Linked DNA regions of Homo sapiens: region 1 is linked to region 2. Evidence: promoter capture Hi-C in 16 types of primary human blood cells and fetal thymus (Javierre and others, 2016). All regions are on one chromosome and are shown on one strand. The core of a region is centred on a gene start or on the middle of the fragment in contact, and the rest is flanking DNA. Distances in the headings are between cores, read along the strand shown.

Region 1 (6,308 bases), core at 3,291-5,790, 1.0 Mb after region 2:
AGTGATGGGAGGGAACATTGATATTTATGTCTAATGGCCTTTCTTTTCTCATTGAAATAGAAAGTTAAGTTATTGGATCAAAGGGAAAGTTAGGGCATGGTTGGAATTTTTACAGGTGGGTATTTGGGGTGACTGTAGTAGTGAATGAGAAAGTATGTTAGCCAAGGATGAGGTAAAGAGTTCCTATCAAAATCAAAGACCCAGAGAGAATAATTCAGTTTTGGGTCCTGAAGGTACTTGGTTGACTGGTTATAGAGACAAAGTGAGTGAAGTTATTAACATTGGTGAAAAGATATCCAGGAATCAACAAAAACAATATGACTTGCATATATACAAATCTTACTGGTGTTGTTTTTTAAATTAGTAACTGAGGAGAAAAGACAAAGCAAAAATGATTAAATATCAACAAGTGTTAGGGCCTGGCACAGTGGCTCACGCTTGTGATTCTAGCACTTTGGGAGGCAAAGGCAGGTGGATCGCTCCATCACTCCAGCTCAGGAGTTCCAGACCAGCCTGGGCAACATGGCAAAACCCTGTCTCTACAAAAAATACAAAAATTAGCCAGATGTGGTGGCACACGCTTGTAGTCCCAGCTACTCAGAAGACTGAGGTGGGAGGATCACTTGAGCCCAGGAGGCAGAAGTTGCTCTGAGCTGAGATCATATCACCGCACTCCAGCCTGACAGACAGAGCAAGACCCTGTCTAAACAAAACAAAATGAAGGAAACCAATTATTAGTAGAAGATAATGAGAATATGGGTATTTATTTTATTTTGGATACTTTTCTAGTTTTCACTATTTATAAAACCTTTAAATAATTGACAGATGAAAGCTAGATTAAGACATACAAAGTTGAACTAAAAATCAGCTTTAATGAAAATTATTATGAATATATACTTCTGTTTTTAAATCAGATACTCATAATAAAAATATGAATAATTAAAGAAAGTTAGAAATTAGAGAAAAAGGAAAAATCAGCCAAAGCATCATAATATTAGCACCCCAGTTTATATATTTCTATTCTCACTTCTTAAATGGATTTTCATTTGGGGAGGGGCACTCAGTGTAGCACAAGTTTGTGTAAGTTTTTATTTTAAGAATATATAATTACAATTTCCATATTATTGCATAAATTTTGTAGCAATTTTTCCTACAGTTTTGTCATAATTTTAACTATTTTTAAGGAAATAGTTAACTATTTTTAAGGAAATAGTTAACTATTTTTAATTAAATATTGTACTTAACTATTCCCTGTTGAGGTTGCTTTTAGATTTATACTCTTATAAATAAGTGAATATCTTTTTTGTTAAGTTTATTTTCTGAAAATACAGATTTTTTTGGATATTTATGAGTCAAAGGATATGAAAATTACTAAGGCCCTTCATAACAGGTTTAAAGTCTTGCTCCACAAAGCCCAGTTGCTTTCTAAGAGGATTTACATTTCTACCAGCAATGTATGAGACTGTCTATTTCACCATACCCAATTCAGCATTAAATAGCATTTACTGCTATCTAATGGATAGCTAATTTTCTAGAAGAAAATTTACATTTTAATAATTATGATGGCTAACATTTACAGAGTACTGCTCTATAAGTACAGTTAAATACTTACAAACATTCATAAGATATGCCTTGCTACTGTCTGGATCTTACAGAGAATTAAAGCATCCAGTCAGCCAGCCAACAACTATAAATGAAAGAAGCTCCCGCTAAGTGCCAGACACTGTTCTGCATGCTGGTAATACAAGGATCTCACATAGCACAGGTCAGAGAAACGAGATAAACAAAACATATAAATAAGTACAATAATATCAAATAACAGTAGGTGCTTTGCAGAAAATAAAATAGGATGATACACAAGAAAGTGATGGAGGTAGGGCACTGGGGGAGCTATTTTTACTAGGATAGTAAAGGAAAATCTTAATAAAATGGCATCATTTCAGCTGAGACCTCAAATGAGAGGGAATAGCCATTTGAAAATCTCAGGGAAAATCATTCCAAGGAGAAGGAATAGCAAGTGTAAAGCCCTTGAGGCTCTGGAATGCAGGGAAAGAGAGGAGGTCAAAATGTTTAAAGAGGAAGGCAGGTCAGATCATGTAAGGCCTTGGGGGCAAGGGAGAGAGTTTGGATTTCCTTATTGATTCAATGGGAAGGCACTGAAAGCTGTTATGGAGGGGAGTATATGATTTGATTAATGCTTGTTTGAGCTCTCTGCCTCCTGTGTAGAAAATAAACTTCAGAGTAGCCAGAGTAGAGGGAGAGAGACATGCTGAGATGTTATTACAGTAGTTCGCGGAAGATATAATGATAGTTTGGATAGGGTTGCATGAAGAATGTTAGACAGAGAGAGGAATCAGATGTGAGTTGCAAGTGTTTGGCTTGAGAAACTGGATGGAAGATGATGCAATTTACTGACTTGGAGAACACTGAGAATGAAGAAGATTGCACAGACAAGCTCAGTTGGTATTTTTGGTCATATTAAAGTCTAAGATGCCTCTTAGACATCCCAGTGGCAAAGCTGAATAGACAATTGGACATGAGAGGCTGTGGTTCAGTGGGGAGGAAGGACACAAATGTGATAGTCTTCAACACGCAGGTGGCATTTGAAATGGAAATCCTGGATCACTCAGGTAGACTGTGTAGCTAGAGGAGGAACAACAAAGAGTAGGTGCATAGGGAACTCCATCGGTAGGAGGTCTGGCAGAGAAAGAAAAGCCAGCAAAGTGGGTAGCAAACCAGAAACTAAACATTGAAGCCACTGAAAAAACATTTAAACACAGAAAAAGCAGGAGTGATGAGCTGTATCAGTTGCATCATGATGTCAAGTAAGATTAGGACACAGAAGGGAGAGTTTGCTTCATTTAGATCTTTGTGATTTTTGTGTGTAGGTCTTTGTGATCTTAAATTAGTGCTATTTCAATGGTCTAGTGGAGACAAAATGCTGATTGAAGTGAACCAGGGAAAGAAGAGAATGGGGAAGTTGAGACAGCAATTATGAACTACACTTTCGAGGAGATTTGCTGTGAACAATGACATGGATTTATAGGTGAATTGGTTGACATAACTTGTCCAGGTGTGCACAGAGAGCAAGCCTTCAGATCTTTACTTGGAAACAAAAATGTTCTGACAAGCTCTTAACCAAATATACTGTTTTGATTTGTATCTAAAGAGCACTTTCTAAAAGTAATTACTTAACTGTTTCTTTAATTTTTAGAAAACGATATTACTATAGTCATTGAGACAGTTGCCTGATGTTGAGATGCTGCCAATTCCTAGATAAGAAGTCTGGAAATACTAGATAGCTGGGAGGGGCCCAAAGAATGCCAGAGTGTGGCGCAGATTGTATCACTGAAGAGATCCATGTCTATCACAGGAAGAATTAAGTGTATATTGTACACTATTGGCTTCCAATTTCCAAAAGAGAAATAATTCCCACTTCCCAACTGCATGCAATACTTTACTGTAGAAAGAGTAGAGCTAAAAATGATTTCATCATACTTTGTCTGAAAGCTTATGTATGACCAAGAAAATGATTGCTCTTCAGTTTGTATTTAAGGTCTGCCAGTTATACGTGACACAGGAAGTGAACATCACATGAAGTGGGACTGACTCAGAATAATAAAATATATGGTATCTAGGTTTGGGGATGTGATTCTTGATGTAAAACTTAAAAGGAGACTTTCAGACTGCATGTGGCTTTATTGATAACAAAAATTGAAAGGAGGAAGGGAAGGAGGGAGGGAGCAAAGGAAATTAACCAACAGTTATTGATTAGTCATGTGCCCCAGCACTATGCTAAGTACTTAAAAATGCATTATCCTTTTCAGTCCTCACAAAAGAACTTTTAAAGTTACTATCTACATTTTTCAATATGGTAAAATTGAGGCTCAGGGAGGTGAATTCCCTAAAACCACATAGGTGAATTAAAGAGCCAGTGCATGGTCTAACTAAATTCTAGTTCTAGCAATTAAATATAATACCATCATACACTAGCAAAAACTTTGTCAATCATCTGTGACATATTATGTTATTTCAAGTTTATTTTGAAAAAGAAAAATAATGGCTGGAATTCTTAGAATGGTACTCAACAATGTTCCATTCATCCTTAGATGTAATTGCTTGTCATGTGCTGTTTGTGGGAACATGTCACATAAGGGAAGAAATCCTTGCACCCCTGGCTCAAAATGGGCTTGTAATTCATTCACAAAATCTTTCTGGAACACAGAAATAGAGACTGAGTACAGTTTTGCTAATAGAAGAGACATATTTAAGTGGTCTCTTGTATAGATTTTTAAAAAATTAATTAAAAAATTTCTTCTGTGTACTCCCGGAATACTGGAAATCTCCAGCACAGAGCCCAGCACCTAATGGGTAGTGGCGATGGGAGGAAGGATCTCGGTAAATATGCATGGAAAAATGTGGTCTCTGATTACGCATATGTAGACACTTTGGATTATTTAAAGGACATAATAAGTCAGGCCACCTTAAGAGATGGGAGGTTAAGAATTTACATAAACAGACCAGACGGAAACAAAGAGCTGTCAGAGAGACCCAGACAGCTCTGAGGACTAGCTTCTTCATCCTCCCCTCTGAGTTTTGGGGTTTTTGTCTTGAAGGCTCCCTGTGCTGTGTTGTTTTCCGTTCTTTGTTACACAATCCTCTTTGTAGCCTTCAGGCTGTTTGTAAAGGAAGACTACCTGATAGGCTCACCTATTCATTGTTGTCTCTTCTGGGGAGAGATCTTGATTTCAAGTCACTTCTTGGTCCAAATTTGAGTTAGGTCTCTTCCACAATCCAATAAGTGGTCAATGGTGCTCAGAGAATAGCAGACCACTGCTTTCCTGAAATTATTGAGAAACAACTTTAGCTGGAATGGGGCCTGGCAAGGTGATTATGACCAATTGCGGAGGCTAATGCAACTCCACCTTGGATGCTAATCTGCCGTGTTGGCTTCTGATCAACCTCTGTTCCTGGAGGGCCTCTAAGATTTCCAGTTTATCCATTGCTTCTCGCGCAAAGGTATTTACTGTAAATCTTACCTTTAGGTCAAACAACCTAATATACTTCAGTTATCATACTTCAGATGTCCTACACATCCTTTTGGAATTATCCTTTCCCTGTGGTATGTAAGCCCTGGGTTGGTGGGGTAATAGCATGAGTTTCCAACATCTTGTCCCACCACCTCCCGAGATACCGACCAGACACAGCTTCTGATCATAAGTTCCTATTAACTATTTCTTTCTAAGAAACTGATCTGTCACTCCTCCTTTGGCCTCTCAGCTTCCTTGAATTTTGGGGTTGGTTTGCATAGACCTGCTCAACATGGAACACCACAGCATTAGTTTATATGATCTCTAACCTAATGATCTGATTTAATTTGCATCAACAGCAAGGAGTTTGCCTAACTCTCTGCCCAAAGCCTTTTCAATACAAGTCTAACTCATTTTTTTCCAGTCTTTGAAGAACAATGGAAAATTATATGAAGTGTTGCTTCAGAATTCTTTAAAAAAAAAACATAGTATTTGAACTCCAGATGTGCCAGAGTATTAGTTACTGAAGAAAAAAGCTTGAAAGTGAATTGTTTCTCCTTATAGAATCAATGAGTTGACACAAAACCCAATTCATGCTTACTTTATACAAAAAGTACTTTTGTCACCTAACAAGACTGTGACAGCTTTATTTTACTAAAGATTAAAGAAATTTGATGCACTGATAACAATGTCATGTTCTGACATGTATAGAAATAGCTTTGCAGCCAGGCACTGTGGTACACGCCTGTAATCCCAGCACTTTGGGAGACCGAGGTGGGTGAATCACCTGAGGTCAGGAGTTTGAGACCAGCTTGGCTAACATGGTGAAACCTCATCTCTACTAAAAATACAAAAATTAGCTGGGTGTGGTGGCAGGCACCTGTAATCCCAGCTACTTGGGAGGCAGAGATAGGAGAGTTGCTTGAACCCGGAAGGTGGAGGTTGCAGTGAGCAAAGATGGCGCCACTGCACTCCAGCCTGGGTGACAGGAGTGAAACTCCTCTCAAAAAAAAAAAAAAAAAAAAGAAGTAACTTTGCTCTCATTGTAAAATAACAAGTCTTATAACTATAACTTTATATGGATAACAAACATACAGGTGAAACACAGGACATGAACGAGACGCACATTGCTTCCTGAAAAATGAGGTTTGTAACAACATACATTTGAAGACATCAGGGACATGAGTGCAGCTTGATAAAGTGTTTAATATTTCTAACTTGGGACCTCCACAAATATTCTGTAAAAATTTTCGCCAATCGTGAAAGATTTACATATAA
Region 2 (6,487 bases), core at 2,704-5,203:
CAAATGAGATTTCAGCCAGCCAGAAGTGCCATGAGAAAAGTTAAGGCAGGGTGATGTGATAGAGGGACTTGAGGATAGTGTGAGCTTATTTAGACTGGGGATCTGAAAAGAGCTCTCTAAGATGGTATTTGATCTGAGATTTGAAAAATAAGCAGCAGCCAGTTATGCAAATATCTGGGGCACAGGAATGGTAGCAGGGGCAAAGATAAGAACAAACTGCCAGTGCAGAAACAAGGCCTTTGTTGCTGAAGTGTACTGGGGAGGTACTACAAGTGTTTTAGTTTTTACTAAAGGTTTCTGGCTCTATTTTTGATTCTACTTTCACATGTAAATGAAGGTTCTTAGGCACCACTAATTGGATTGCAAGTTTCAAATTTTCCAGAATATATAGTATCCATACCTAACCTTCAAAACTTTTCTTTACACTAAAATAGGGAAAGAGTAGAGGCAAGGGGATGGTTTTGTACTTTTAGTATCCAAACAGCAATCTATCATCTAAATACATAGTGCCATAGCTATTCAATGTATTTATTCATTTTCCTTAACTACAGTCTAAATCCCATTCTACTTTTGTTCTCATTCATTCACCCATTAATTTAACATGTGTTGAATTCATGTTAGATACCAAGCCTAACAAGGTTCTAGAAATAAAACACCACCTGGTGGAGAGTTAAATGCATGTTAAAATGAAAGATATTCACAAAATATTCTTTCTCCTATGTATTTTGATCCTCATATTTCTACCTTCACTCTTTCAGTCACATTTTTAATTACCTCATCCTGTCTTATAGCTTTTTTTTTTCTTTTTCTTTTTTTTTTTTTGAGAGACAGGTTCTTGCTGTCACCCAGCCAGGCTGGGATGCAGTGGTGCGAATACGATTCACCACAGCTTCAACCTCTCAGGCTTTAGCCTGAGGCGATCCTCCCACCTCAGCCAGTAGCTGGGACCTACAGGCACGAGCCACCGTGTCTGGCTAATTTTTGTACTTTTTGTAGAGATGCGGTTTCACCATGTTGCCCAGGCTGGTGTCAAACTCCTGAGCTCAAGAAATCCACTGGCCTTGGCCTCTCAAAGTGCTGGGATTACAGGCATGAGGCACCACGCCCAGCCTTAGTCTCAGAGCTTTGAATTCCATCTATATTTTCTCTCTCTTTTTTTTTTCTTTGAGACGGAGTCTAGCTCTGTCACCAGGCTGGAGTGCAGTGGTGCGATCTCGGCTCACTGCAAGCTCCACTTCCTGGGTTCACGCCATTCTCCTGACTCAGCCTCCTGAGTAGCTGGGACTACAGGCACCCGCCACCACACCCGGCTAATTTTTTGTATTTTTAGTAGAGACGGGGTTTCACTGTGTTAGCCAGGATGGTCTTGATCTCCTGACCTCGTGATCTGCCCGCTTTGGCCTCCCAAAGTGCTGGGATTACAGGCGTGAGCCACCGTGCCCGAACTTCTTTAATTTTCTTTTCTTTTTTTTTTAAAGACGGTGTCTCACTCTGTTGCCTGGACTGGAGTGCAGTGGTGTGATCACCGCTCCCTGCAACCTTGGACACTTGGGCTCAAATGATCCTCCCAGCTCATCCTCCTGAGTAGCTGGGACTACAGCATGCACCACTACATGCAGCAAATTAAAAAACAAAAACAAAAACAAAAAACAAACAACAACAAGAAAAACATGTTTTTGTAGAGACAGAGTCTCACTGTGTTGCCCAGGCTGGTCTCAAACATCCTGGGCTCAAGCTGTTCTCCCGATTTGGCCTCCCAAAATATTGGGATTACAGGTGTGAGCCACTACGCCCAGCCTATATTCTTAAGGTTATCAAACTTCCACACCTTTCCTCTGAAACTCCACACTCCAACTCTCTATGCTTTACTTGGCTGTTATATTAGTTATCAGTTGCTGTGTAACAGATTACATCAAATTTAGTGGCTTAAAACAGGAACAATCATTTATTATCTGTCATAGCTTCTGTGGTTTAGGAATTTAGAAGTGGCTTAGCTGGGTGCTTCTGGCTCATCATCTCTCTTGATGTTGCAGTCAGATATTGGCCAAGGCTGCAATCATCTGATGGCCTGACGGGCTGAAGGAGTTCTTCAGCCCAAAAGTTCAATTGTGCCAAGGCTGAGAAACCCTGCTTTAAACCGATGGGACTATACATTTAAAAAATACTAATGTCGTGAAAGACCAAGGCTGACGATTTAAAGATTTAAAGAAAGTAGAAACATAACAAATGCAAGACATTATCAAGATTTGATCTTGAATTTAGAAAAAAAAATCATTAGTATAAAGGACAGTATTGGGAATTAAACAAAATTTGTATATTAAATAATAGTATTCTGTCAATTTCAGTTTCCTGAATTTGATAATTAAACTGGGACTAAGTAAGGGAATGTCTTGTTTCTAAGACTGAAGAGTCATGATATCTGTAATCTACTCTCAAAAGGCCTTACAACAGAAAATACTAGGAATATAATATGTGTATTATAGGTAAGATATGTAAAGAAAGATAAAGCAAATGTGAGAAAAAGGTAACAATGGCTGAATCTAGCTGAAGAATATATGGGAGTTCCTGCAACTTTTCTTAGGATCTAATTTTTTTTTCAAAGCTAAAAACTTAATTACAAATTCACTCTAGCAGAGATATCAGAAACTTAATTTCACTGTTATCATGGTATCCAGTGGCATAAACATTTAGCAATGTTGAGGGGGTAGCTGCCAGTAGAAATGCATAAAATAAAAGTGATTCTGTCTTTGGGAAAAAACAGCTAGGTTTCAGAAGTTGGGAAGGAGATCTATATATTTTTAAAGATAGACTTTAAAGACATAATCCTAAAGAAATACAGCTGATTTAATGGGACTAGTGGAGGTAGCAATCATATAGTAGAAGGAGCACTGGACTCAGAGTAGAAAGACATGGATTCCTGTCTTCTAACATATCCTTGGTTAGGTTAATACATCTCTTTGAGTTACAGTTTTTTCATTTGTAAACCTGGGATACCACTTACTTCACAAGGTAGTTCGGAAGATCAATACGACTATGTATTAATTCCCTATACAGTATTAAAAGTACCATAGAAATGCAACCTAATTTTTTAAAACCATGACTCGCCTCCCTTATTACCCATAAGATTTTTCGTTAAACCCATATAGTAGGTACTCCCTTTGCAGTCTGTGTTTCCACCCACCCTGATCAGGCCTCAAGTAGGATCCAAAATTTCTTCATTTTCCCACAAAAGAATTCCACTCGAGCAAGAAATTTTATTTTACTCGAGTAAAATAAAATACTTTGCTCGAGTAAGTAAAACATCTTATTGAAGAATTTTAGGGGAGACCAGGGTTTGTTTTTGTTTCTGTTTTTTACTACACATGCCCTAGCATTCAAGGGCATCAGTATCCTTTCCAGAGGCCTCCTCCCGCTAGTTCCTCTTCCCAAAACGCTTTGCATTTTTTGTTTCTTTGCTCTGGACTCTCTCTTGAATCTACCCCCTTGAGTCGCTCAGTCGAAGAGACTGAGACTTTCCCTTCTTCATGTTGGGCAACATAATTCTTCCAATTATTTACTTCCAAAAAAGACCCACTAGTACCAAGATTCAATCTACTTTTGAAGGCAGCAGATAATTAAAATGACAATTTTTTTTCTGGCATACTTGTATTCTCGGGTCTATTTCCGAGCTTTCAGTTCTATTCTGGCGACGAATCCTTGTGCCCAAACCATGAAAGACCCCCTAGAGAGATGGAGCAGAAACAAGTCAGAGCGCCTGAAGAGAGCGCTCTCACGGCCTCAGTCCTGGACGCAGGCGCGGAAAGTCCATTAAGTCCCACCCAATCGGGGTATTTCCCACCCCCTAAGCCCGTGCACCGGAAACCATGGGGGCGGAAGAGGTGCTGGGCAGGAGGCGGAAGAGGTGCTGTGCAGGAGGCGGGCGGGCGCGGTTCTTTCCGGAAGGATTGAATCTCCTTTAGCCCCGCCCGCCTCCGTAGCTGCCTGAAGTAGTGCAGGGTCAGCCCGCAAGTTGCAGGTCATGGCGCTGGCTGCTCGACTGTGGCGCCTTCTGCCTTTCCGACGTGGAGCCGCCCCGGGGTCTCGTCTCCCTGCGGGGACTTCGGGCAGCCGCGGGCATTGCGGCCCCTGTCGATTCCGCGGCTTCGAGGTACCCCCGTGGTCCTGGCTCCCGCTCCTCACTTCCTACTCAGTGGGTTCCGGCTCCCCCTTAACTTAAGTGGTGGCGGCCCCGCGCTGCCTAAGGAATGTGGTGAACCGAGGAAAGAACTCGGGGCCACTGTGCCTGGAACGCCCGGACAGGTCCCTTCCATTTTGCAAACCTCCACTATCCTTAACTGGGGCTGTCAGAGAAGGAGTGGGGTTTGCCCCCACGCGCCCCAGAAGCTGCCTGCTACCCGCCCTTCTTGTGCGAAATGTAAAACAGGACGGGAAAGAACCTTGACCGCTGTGAAATTATTCTCCCTGTAGGCGATGACAGATACAACAGCGCTTGAGGCTGCCCCTTTCAGACTTTGAAAAGTGTGGTGTGTGATTTAAAAAGTTCTACGACTCAGAAGCAGAGATTTCATACTGTTTAGGTTTTTGTTTAAAAATGTTTATTTCTCAGTTGCCCGTTGTATCTGCATAACGTCAATGAAGGTTGTCGGCATGTTGTAGTCTCAGTTCTGGTATTTCTATTAGACTGCTCGTGGGCCTCTGTTTATTCTTGTCAGGGAATTGGAATGGCATTAATGCATATGATATATTTCACATGAACTAGGGGTTTCATTATTTTAAACTCAAATTTTTAACTGCTCAGTTAAAATCTTTCAGAATTATTATGGGACTGATGGTGGGGAGGGGTGGTTAAAATTTGGCATATTCCCCTTCCTTGGAAGTTTATAACCAAATGGGGAGGTTATAGATAATATAGGCAGAGAGATGGGAGGAGTTCTAAGTATGAAACTAGTTAGCCGTAAGTTTTCAAATTGGAACAATGATGAGTTTGAAGTCCCATTTTAGGCCTGGCCCCTTGGCTCAGCCTGTAATCCCAGCACTTTGGGAAGCCGAGGCGGAAGGATTGCTTGAGTCCAGGGGTTTGAAACCAGCCTGGGCAACACAGTGAGACCCTGTCTCTACAAAAAAATTTAAAAGTTAGCCATGTACATTTTTATATGTAGTAATTACTATATATGATAATCTTGTCTGTAAGATTCATTTTTATTATGTGTTGGTGTCTCATATTTTACTTCATACAATTTGCAATATCCATGCATTTGCAAATAAGTTGTAGCAAATAAGTTGTAGCTCTTCCTTTCCAGCAGGAGTGTGATTTTTAGATGAGCGGCGACTCCAGGGGATATCTTTTTCTCAATAAGATACGCTTTGAGATAGTTTTACTAAAGATTTTGATGAAGTAATTTTTAAGCTTCCAGTATTATGATCGATTGCTTTGGGGGTGGGAGAAAATTCATGTAATTTTTGCTTGGGGTAGCAGTACCTTCAAATTTTCAAAGTTTGTAACTCTTAACATAATTGTTTCCATAGGTAATGGGAAACCCAGGAACTTTCAAAAGAGGCCTTTTACTCTCAGCTTTGTCGTATTTGGGTTTTGAAACTTACCAGGTTATCTCTCAGGCTGCTGTGGTTCATGCCACAGCCAAAGGTAAGCATAAATTAGATATATGGAACATTTAGAGTTTTTTTGTGTGCGTACATTCAGAATTTTTATTTTAAAACAAAGAATCAGGGTAATGTTAATAATAGAAAATCCATATGGAAATATTCACAATCTGCTCAGTGAGAAATGGGAAAACAACTTCCCTGCCTAACTGCCAACCTACTGTTTGAGGAGCCAGAAGTTGACGTGAAGTTGGAAGAAGGTCACCTTTTCCAGCTAAACCCCACTCCATAGCTATGTGCATTTTTATTTGAAGTCTCCGTGACCAGAGGAAACAGTGAGAACTGAGAACCAAGATACCGTTATCAGCAAGGGTTTGGCTAAAGGGTCTGAGATGTGTAAGCACCAAGAAGGGGAAGGGAAATTGAGCAACATATGAAAAAGGGGCTGTAGGAACACAGAAAAAATAAGTCAACAATAACCTATTTCCATCCAGAGCAAAGGGACAGTGCACACATATTCATCCTCTCAAGTGTGGGCTACACTGTACATTGACTCATACTATCTCGAACATGGTCTGTTGGAAAGATTGAGACCCCCTAAGGGCACTTGGCATAGGACCACAGTGACATGGTAACAGACATAGACAAGCATGGCATGACCCTAAAGGCAACAACACACCTTTAGATAATAATCGTTCAGAAAAAAATCCCAGAGCTGAGGTTATAAATTCCAAGTTAGCTATAAACATTCTTTGGGGAATTCCTTTAAAGATATGAGTTAAAATAAAACAAAATCAACACCTAAAATCTCCTAAAGCACAAAATGGAGAAATAATGAATCTCTACCAAGAACTGATTATTTTAAGTTTCTCATTTGGATGGCTCT

What was found. The method cuts DNA at HindIII sites, captures the fragments that hold promoters and counts their contacts. A CHiCAGO score of 5 or more calls a contact.
Region 1: a contact is called between a fragment that was not itself captured here and the fragment with the promoter of RMDN1 in region 2, in 1 of 17 cell types (naive CD8 T cells). The highest score is 5.3, in naive CD8 T cells.

The regions. Positions count from the first base shown.
Region 1 is chr8:85,499,588-85,505,895 of GRCh38, reverse strand. LOC105375937 (a long non-coding RNA gene) reads right to left here. Exons shown (of 7, transcript XR_929129.4): 3 at 4,711-4,841. Among named protein-coding and RNA genes, the nearest start is that of CA3-AS1, 38 kb to the right of the region's middle. The HindIII fragment of the contact is 2,056 bases long and covers 3,513-5,568 here.
Region 2 is chr8:86,506,152-86,512,638 of GRCh38, reverse strand. It overlaps RMDN1 (regulator of microtubule dynamics 1), which reads left to right and starts at 3,953. Exons shown (of 10, transcript NM_016033.3): 1 at 3,953-4,147; 2 at 5,527-5,644. The coding sequence starts at 4,019. It also overlaps the pseudogene SLC2A3P4. RefSeq lists an enhancer at 4,039-4,208. The HindIII fragment of the contact is 14,106 bases long and covers 1-5,409 here.